Linked DNA regions of Homo sapiens: region 1 is linked to region 2. Evidence: promoter capture Hi-C in 16 types of primary human blood cells and fetal thymus (Javierre and others, 2016). All regions are on one chromosome and are shown on one strand. The core of a region is centred on a gene start or on the middle of the fragment in contact, and the rest is flanking DNA. Distances in the headings are between cores, read along the strand shown. Region 1 holds the start of TUBE1 (tubulin epsilon 1). Region 2 holds the start of HACE1 (HECT domain and ankyrin repeat containing E3 ubiquitin protein ligase 1).

Region 1 (4,391 bases), core at 603-3,102, 7.2 Mb after region 2:
TCCATAAAATAAATATAAATGATACCAGCCATTAAAGTAACTAACTTCCTTTGGTCTGATTCCATGGTCACCAAGCAACCTTCAGATTATTACACAGCTTTTCAGTTAGATTTCCTACAAAAGATAAAGTAATGTGCCTATGAAAATGAGAATTTGGTCTTTGGTTAACCTGGCTGTACTGGAGAGCACTGAACCCATCTCGAGATGCCAATGACACTTCTGAGTTTGCAAGCCAGTGCCCTAGATAGACTCTGGAATTCACCCAGGAAGCGCGGACTAATCAGCTTTCTCTGAAGATAACTGCTCACACACCCAGCCAACTATTTTAAACTAGAACTGATGTTCCTATTGGATTAAAGCCTGACACGAAGTATGTATTTTTCAGTTTAAGCACAGGACAGTTAGTTTTATGAAGTATTTTGAAAATGCATGAACTTAATGATTTAATATTAAAAGCTTATGGAGATATCCTAAACGGCAACTTAAATTACTCTTCCAGATAAAACATATATGGTACTTACATATACTCTTTATTAAATAAACAAAAACAATCCAACAACTGCTTGTCACCTTTTTAAGTATATTTTTATACTTACAGCATATATGTAAACAATATATTTTTCTTTCAAAAGTTAGTTATTACAGGATGCATTAACAAGATGCCCTCTGGGAAAATTTCAGCTTTCTTTTAATGAAACTTATTTCAAGGTTAAGTTAAAAGAAGTCACACTAAAGGGAAATCTGTTGTCTTCTTCGGGAAAATGATATAAGAATATTAATAATCTAATAGAATAAATATGCTTTCAATAATGAAACAAAAAAACACAACTTCGCAGCTGGCTATTTTTATTGTCCTTTGAAGAATTCTCTCCCAAGCTACTGAAACTTAAAGTATCACACTGTGACAGACTTTAATCCCATCTTACCTGGTGTCCACATTTCTAAAGAAGCTGCTTATTGCCTCATCATAAATTCCTTTCTAAAAAGAAAAACATATGTTAATAGCATTTAGGTTTTGCTTCTCGCCCAAATCAAGTTCTTTCAATTTTAATTACATAATACTGTAATGGCTAGGATGAGACTCTGATAAGAAAAACCAAGTATCACAAAATGCGGAGCCTGACTCTTCCCAATCTCCTTAGAAGAGTAAATGCCAGATCTACAGATAAAAAGTTCAGCAGGGGGTGCTAAAGAAAGGATTTCACCCATAGGACTGTAGGACAGGTCCATCAAATGAGCGTTCTCTGGATTCTTCGTAATCTTTTTAAAAGCTGACTGGTTAAATTAAGGAATACAATAACCACACGTGTTATCTATTTTACAAAGTACTTTCCCATATACAAATCTCACTGTTCTGCACACGAACACCAATAAAGAGGAGACCCTGAGAATCAGGAAAAACGTTAAGACTAAGGTCGCTGGCCAGTGTTCTTTTAGTTTAGTGTGTGTCTGACGCAACATGTTTAAAAACCAGTACGTTCTTTACTGGGAAGATCCCATGCATCTTAAACGGGTCAGATGAAAGCTCAAGTCGATTATTTCCTGCGTATGGGCTGGAAGACCTAGCTGACAGGCGAGGGGGCTCGCGGCGGCGGGCGGGTACCTGGTTGACCGCGGCGTGCTCCCTTAGTGCCAGGTCCCAGAAGCAGCAGCCGATCTGGTTTCCGCACTGGCCGACTGCGACCGGAGGAGAGGAAGGAAAGAGAATAGGACATTAAGCAGGAAACATGGCCGCTGGATTCCGCGGCGACCAGGTCTCTACCCGCCCGGCGTAGCTTACCCTGTACGACCACCGACTGGGTCATGGTGGTGCGCCGCCGGCTCCGGGAGCTTGCTAGCCCGCGGCCGCTTCTGCATTCCCCCAGCAACGGCGCTCTGCTAGAGAGCTGCCGTAAGTCACGCTACTGCCGCAAGCCTCTGCCGTCGCTAAGCACGTCTGTAGGTTCAGGCTAAGGTTTTCCGTCAGAAGGCCGCGCAAGTGCACTTGCGTGTCACCGTTACCGTAGCGACTGGGCTTCTGGACTGTATATCCTAGCTGCCTTGTCAACATCTTCGAGCATCGGCAGCTCCGGAGGCCGGGGTAACTGGCAGGTAACTAGGCTTTGGAGTGGTATTTTAAAATATGTGTCGTTAAGCTGTTCGTGGGCTATCAGAGGTTTAATTTTTGTTCACAGCCTCAACACCCGGGGCGGTGGATCAGTCCGTTTATTCAGATTCCACGGGACGCTGCGTTGGCATCTCTGTTCAACAAGCCCTTTATTCTAATAGAAAATGAACAATGGCGTTGAGCAAAGAGAAACCCCAGAGAAATAGTCATGTCAGGGCACAATTGAAACTAGATGGTTATACGCTTTGACAAAAATGGCAAAGCTAAGGTCACAGACCCAACCAGTATTTGTTGAACGCTGTATACTCCCCAAATTAACTTGTAGGCTCGCTGGGAAGATTAGAAAGAAATTAAGGCATAGATCCAGTTCCAAGAAGCTTACAATCTAATTGAAGACATACACGCGAAATACTTAAAGAATTGTGTGGCGTTGACTATAAGTGCAATAGGATTCAGTGGTTGAGGATGTAGATGAGTATGTAGAAGTCTGATAGAAGACACGAGATTAACACTAGGCATTTAGATGGGTATTTAGATGGGATAGGCAGGAGAAGATTAAAAAGTTAGGCATTATGACAATTACCAACTACTTAAAATTGTCAAACATTAAAATATGTAAACTTCTATTGATCAAATTAGACCAGATTTTAATTAAGAACTCAAGTACTTCTTTAATGAAATTAATATTTTCCACAAAAATTCTGAAGAACTACGAAACTCTAAGAAGTCTTCTTTGTTTAATAAAAAGTTATATGGTATGTGCTATGAATATGTGCTAATATGAACTGTAATATTCAATGGATTAGAACACTTTATTGTCCCACCAAGACACGTAGTAGTTACTATTAAATTTCTCTGGTAGCCGGTAGGTTTAAAGTTGCAATGGATTTTATATCTTTTGGTAATAGGCAGCTTTCGGTCAGTAAATTTTTGTAGGCTGGATTTATTCTTAACTTCTTACTGAGTATGGGGTCAGTGGTAGAGGTAAAGTTGGGCATTTTAGGTCTTGATGCTAAAGTCCCAACGTCTGGGGCTTCCAAAATTTGCAAGTCTTGGTCCAGTTTGTAGGCAGTGATGTGAATAGGTCTGTATCAGTGTGTTATCAGTGCTAGGTGAGATGATACACTGGCCTTTGCAGAGCCCTACCCTTCATGCAGTCCCAGTCATTATTCCCCACACAGGAAAGAAAAGTCCTAACACATCTTATTAATAACTTCAGTCTCTAGAGAATCAGACTGAGAGACAGTTCTGCTTAAGAGCCAAGCAAGGTAGAGCCTCACATGCCAGCCACTCCAAAACTTCCGTATATGCAAACCCGGGTGAGCCAAGTTGAGATCGGTTGAACCGCAGCGGGCTATTCAGAATATTATAAGCAAGAGAAATGTTTTTGGTTGAAATTACTGAAATTTTGGGGTGCAGTTTTATTGTAGTGATAGCTGACCAACATACAGAGCAAATAGAGTGAACAGAATTCCACATGCTGAAAATGAAAAAGAAAAAAATTATTGGGAATCCTATGGACTCCTAAAATTGAAGGAAGGAAGACAAGGATGGAAGGGAGAGAGGGAGGGAAGGGGGAGAGGAAGGAAGGAACGATGTAAAAGATGGATAAAGTACAAGACCTTGGGGTAAAACCTAGCCTAAGAGGGGAGAAAAGAAAATTCATCATATCTACTTTGTGCTGAAGAAGAACTTAAGAATATGAATGCAATAAAACAGGAACTTAAAGACAAGATACTAAAATAATAAGACTCAAGCTCTATGAGGGCTGAGTCTTGTTGTTTTATCCACTACTAGGGATAGTACCTTGCATATAGTAGATAGTAAATAAATATTTGATGAATAAATGAAATAAAATGGAGATAAAAGAACTAAGGAAATTAACTGAAGACAACAACATCCACCTTAAAGGACTTAAAGAAATAATTTTTAAAAGCATTTAAGAAGCAGACTAGAGAGATGCACATCAAATTATAATGTAGAGGAAAGTCTTAAAATAATAACAATACTAGGCAAAACCCAGAGATATGAAAGTTATTAAAAATAATATGTATGAAGGAGACAAAGATGGCTCAACATAAGATTAACATGTGCCCACAGCAAATGGAGGAAAAAATGTACTTGATAAAAAAAAAGGAAGAAAAATACATAGATTAAAAGGATACACACTATGTTCTATAGGACAATTTATAGAAAAATCAACACCAAGACATGCAGCCTCATTAAGGCATTCAACTTTTCAGAATAAAGAGAGAATTTTTTAGGTACCTAGGCATGAAATGAA
Region 2 (4,065 bases), core at 443-2,942:
TATACATGTAGTCTTCATAAAGCTATACCAATAATTCGACTACGAAAAATAAGTAAGAGTAGCACTTAAGAAATGGATTCAAAGGTGGAAGTTGGAAAGAAAATATAGAAAAAGTTGAAGCTAGAATCTAGTTACCAAAATCTGAATTCTAAATAGAGACTAGAGACCATTTTTTCAAGAAGATTATCCCCAGGCCAGGCGCGGTGGCTCACATCTGTAATCCCAACACTTTGGGGGGAGCAGGGTGCGGATCACTTGAGCCCAGGAGTTCAAGACCAGCCTGGGGAACATAGTGAGACCTCATCTCTATAAAAGAAAGGAAAGAAAATTATCGCCAAAGTACCCAATCCCACATTTCTTTCATGACCGTCTGCCAAGGTCTCCTTCCCTATCCTACAAACCACCCAGCAGCAATTCAAAGAGAGTTTTGAAAAAGTAAGATAAACTACTACAATTAAGAAAAAAGCTATTCACCAGCTACAACCTCCTCCCAACCCTTCTCTCACTTGGGCATAAAGAGCCAAAAGCTTCTTAGAAGCAGCACTGCTGTCTCCCATCACCACTAAAATGTCTGAATTCCTGACGCTGCAAACAAAACTGCTTATTTTCTCTCCTTGTTATTAGCAGAGTTTTACCTGTCCTGAGGGAACCCTGGCACGCTGAACTAAAAGTCCTGATCCTCAGGGACCATGCCTTATTCCTCTTTGCAGATGCGTCCTAGTTACCAGCTAGCCCACTCAATACTAGTCTGATGAATAAATGAAGAATGAAGGCAGGCATGCATATTAAAGAAAAATATATTGTGTTTACCCATACAGTACTTTAAGAGTACCTGTTTGATGTTTGACAACCCTTTGTTTGCCTGTTATCAAAACAAGGCAGTGCCCCACATTTTAAAAAATAACAAAAATAAAAGCCCGCCTGGCCCCCCGATGCAGCTTAAAGTAAACAGTATCTTTGGATCATCTCTATCCCCAGCTACTGTTAAATGACCCGCAATTATGATGTTTTCTGACTCCGGGTCTCGGGCCTCCGGCTGGTATTCCTGCCCCTTTGCCAAGACCCCTAATCGACAGACGTTGCGAGACCTTTGTCTCGCTCCTCCCAGCAGCGGAACCCCCACCAACCCAGTTTCCTCCCGAAAACTCCCACCTGCCGGGGTGGGAGCGTCGGGCCAGGGGAGTTCGGGGCCCGGGGCCGCCTCTCAGCTCTGGAAAGTAAAAGTGGGCGTTTTCTCAGCTTTCAGTTAGTTTTTCCACCCGACCTTGACGCGGCCGGAGCTCCTGCCCCACTGGCCGCCCCCAGCCCCGCGGCCAGCCTGGCCCCGCGACCCGGCTCACCCTCGGGCAACTCCACGGTGCGCGCGCGGCGCAGCGAGCGCGTCAGGCGGTTGAGTTGCTCCATCGCTCTCTCCATCCTCGGCGCGCCCTCCGCGATCCTCCGCGATCAGCCGCCCCACCGGCGGCCTCCGCGCCCAGAGCCCTACATCTCGCCTGGGCCCGTCCAGCAGGCGGAGACGCGGGCTTGCCCCGGCTAGAGCACTGAGCTGCGAGGGCTGCCTGGGGCCACGTCCTGCGTCCGGGGGCCGGGCTGCTGCCGGACCGACCACCTACAGTACACCCGCCGCCGCCTCTGCTCGCGCCTTTCCTGCAGCCCCCGCCGCCGCGTCCCTCCCGGGCTCGCGTGGCCTTCTGGGAACTGTAGTTTCCAGCTGGCAGAACGGAGCGCCCTGGGCGGAGTCACGTTGGGGGCGCCCAGGCCACGCCAACGCGGGCGCAGGGCTGAGTATGCGGGAAGCCACGCAGCGACTGGGCGTACTCCTAAGCTTCTGGAAAGGCATTCTCACGCCCTGCTCCTCCTACCCTCCTCCAAAGTTGTACAGGAGCAGTTTCCTCCAATTCTATAACTTTACTATAAAACAGATTAGAAATTGGCACAATTGTTCTTAAATCCGTCACCACCTTTCTAGTACTGTATTAGTGCCTTTGTTTCAGGTACCCTACATGAACTGTTTTAAGTATGGTATTTTCATATGTCAAACTTAAAGAGTAATAAAATCAAACAAATCCAAAAGCATATTGTGCTTTTGTCTTCATTGTAAATAACTTGACAATAGCTTAATTAGTTGTTTTTCCTGCCGGGCGGCTTTATGAGGGCAGGGACATTTAATCTTGAACTGTGTTGTATCCCTGTACTTAACAAGGCACCTAGCACAAAGTTAAAGCTCTGGGGAAGATATGAATGATGACAACCTGAAAAAATTTTTTCATTTATTTGGTACAATGCTAAAGTGTCTATGTGATGACACAGCCTAGTGGGAAATCCAAAGGATTTGACTTTGTAAGTTACAAAAAATTTGGATACCTACATTGTGGAAGAAATGAACTCAGTGGCGAAAAATCATATTCATAAGCTCTGCACAGAAGTTGAACACTTGAAACAACAGAAGTTGGAACTTCAAAAAATTAACCCAATCAAAGGGGTAAATGTGAGCCTGGCTAACACCAATATATCTTGGATATATTACCAGTGCCAAGATGATGCTGGAGTGAGGGAGAAACAAAAGGCTTGTCTTTTTCAGCTTCTCTTCCTCAAAGAGACAAAGCTGTTCCTGAAATGAATGGGCACATGTACGTTGATGATGTATGTTGGCTGGCCAAGTGAAAGAGAGTCTCACCTGCCCATTCAGGATATGAAGGGGCAGATGGTGGTTGGCATGTGTTTTCCCTGCCAGTGCCGTCCTAAATCAGTTCCAGCTAGTGACCATTTGTGCCAGTGGTGCCACAGGCACGGGGAAGACCTCTGTAATCTTCACCTAATCAGATGATACCTAAACCAGTCTGGCAACAAGGTGGTAGAGGTCAAAGTTTCAAAAGAATACCAGAGGCTGGGCGCAGTGGCTCATGCCTGTAATCCCAGCACTTTGTGAGGCCAAGGCAGGCGGATCACTTGAGGTCAGGAGTTTGAGACCAGCCTGGCCAACATGGTAAAACCCTGTCTCTACTAAAAATATGTATATACAAAAATTAGCCGGGCGTGGTGGTGTGCCTCTGAAATCCCAGCTACTCGGGAGGCTTAGGCAGGAGAATCGCTTGAACCCGAGAGACAGAGGCTGCAGTGAGCTGAGATCCTGCCATTGCACTCCAGCCTGGGTGACAGAGCGAGACCCTGTCTCAAAAAAAAAGGAAAGGAAGAAAGAAATACCAGACGTTATGGACCAGTCTAGCCCAGGCTCAACCATTTGCAACCTGGCTTCAACTAAAAATGTTCCAGTCTTGCTTGGCCTCTTATGCTATTCAAAAAGTCAGGATTCCCACTGCTGTACAGAAGTTGGCCCCTCAGCTTCTCTCAGCTGCTGTTATCACCATTGCTCTCTAGGCTGTTGCTCCATATAAATTACCTCCAACGTCCTGTGAGGACCAAGCCTGGAGTTTGTGGGCAGGGGTAGGAGCCCCCAGCAGCCTCCATGGTGGGCATTGCATCTCATGCTGGTCACTGTTCACCACAGGAGCAGAAGATAATGGAACAGGTAATGCTGATGTGAATTGTCAGTTCCAAATTCTGCAATATGATGCCGTCTCCCAATAGCTCTGCTTCAAAATGTATAAAGCTGCAGTACTACTATCAGCTTATCACCTCCTGTCCAACAGAACTTTCTGCAATGATAGAAATATTCTATAATCTGCAATGTCCAAAATAGCATCCACTAACCAAATGGGGTTACTGGGTGCTTGAAATGTGGCTGGTGCAACTGAATTTTAAATTTGTATTAAAGTATAAGTAATGAAACTAATTAAGTTAAATAGCTGTATGTGCCTTGTGGTTACCGTATTAGACAGGGCAACTTATCACACCAAGAAGAAAGCTGCCCAGGAGAACACCAAAACAGCTAAACAGCTTCTTATAGATTATTATTAGCTAAAGAGTAGATTTTCTCACCTGTCACCAACACCAAAAACATCAAGTGGAAGTTTCAAAAGGGCACTTTGTATCATAAGTTCCATTAACAAAAGCGTAGAGTTTTTCACTAATGATAACCCAGGTTCTTCTGTGGCCCAGACAGTT

Evidence for each region. The method cuts DNA at HindIII sites, captures the fragments that hold promoters and counts their contacts. A CHiCAGO score of 5 or more calls a contact.
Region 1: the fragment with the promoter of TUBE1 here is called in contact with the fragment with the promoter of HACE1 in region 2 in 1 of 17 cell types (non-activated CD4 T cells); the score reaches 6.3 in non-activated CD4 T cells.

The regions. Positions count from the first base shown.
Region 1 is chr6:112,085,630-112,090,020 of GRCh38, forward strand. TUBE1 (tubulin epsilon 1) reads right to left here and starts at 1,853. Exons shown (of 12, transcript NM_016262.5): 1 at 1,781-1,853; 2 at 1,604-1,677; 3 at 927-979. The coding sequence starts at 1,805. FAM229B (family with sequence similarity 229 member B) reads left to right here and starts at 1,962. Exons shown (of 4, transcript NM_001033564.3): 1 at 1,962-2,091. RefSeq lists enhancers at 1,383-1,432, 1,567-2,098, 1,833-2,022. The HindIII fragment of the contact is 2,028 bases long and covers 455-2,482 here.
Region 2 is chr6:104,858,227-104,862,291 of GRCh38, forward strand. HACE1 (HECT domain and ankyrin repeat containing E3 ubiquitin protein ligase 1) reads right to left here and starts at 1,693. Exons shown (of 24, transcript NM_020771.4): 1 at 1,341-1,693. The coding sequence starts at 1,416. It also overlaps the pseudogene LOC100422315. RefSeq lists a silencer at 1,122-1,751 and enhancers at 1,374-1,873, 1,488-1,782. The HindIII fragment of the contact is 1,298 bases long and covers 526-1,823 here.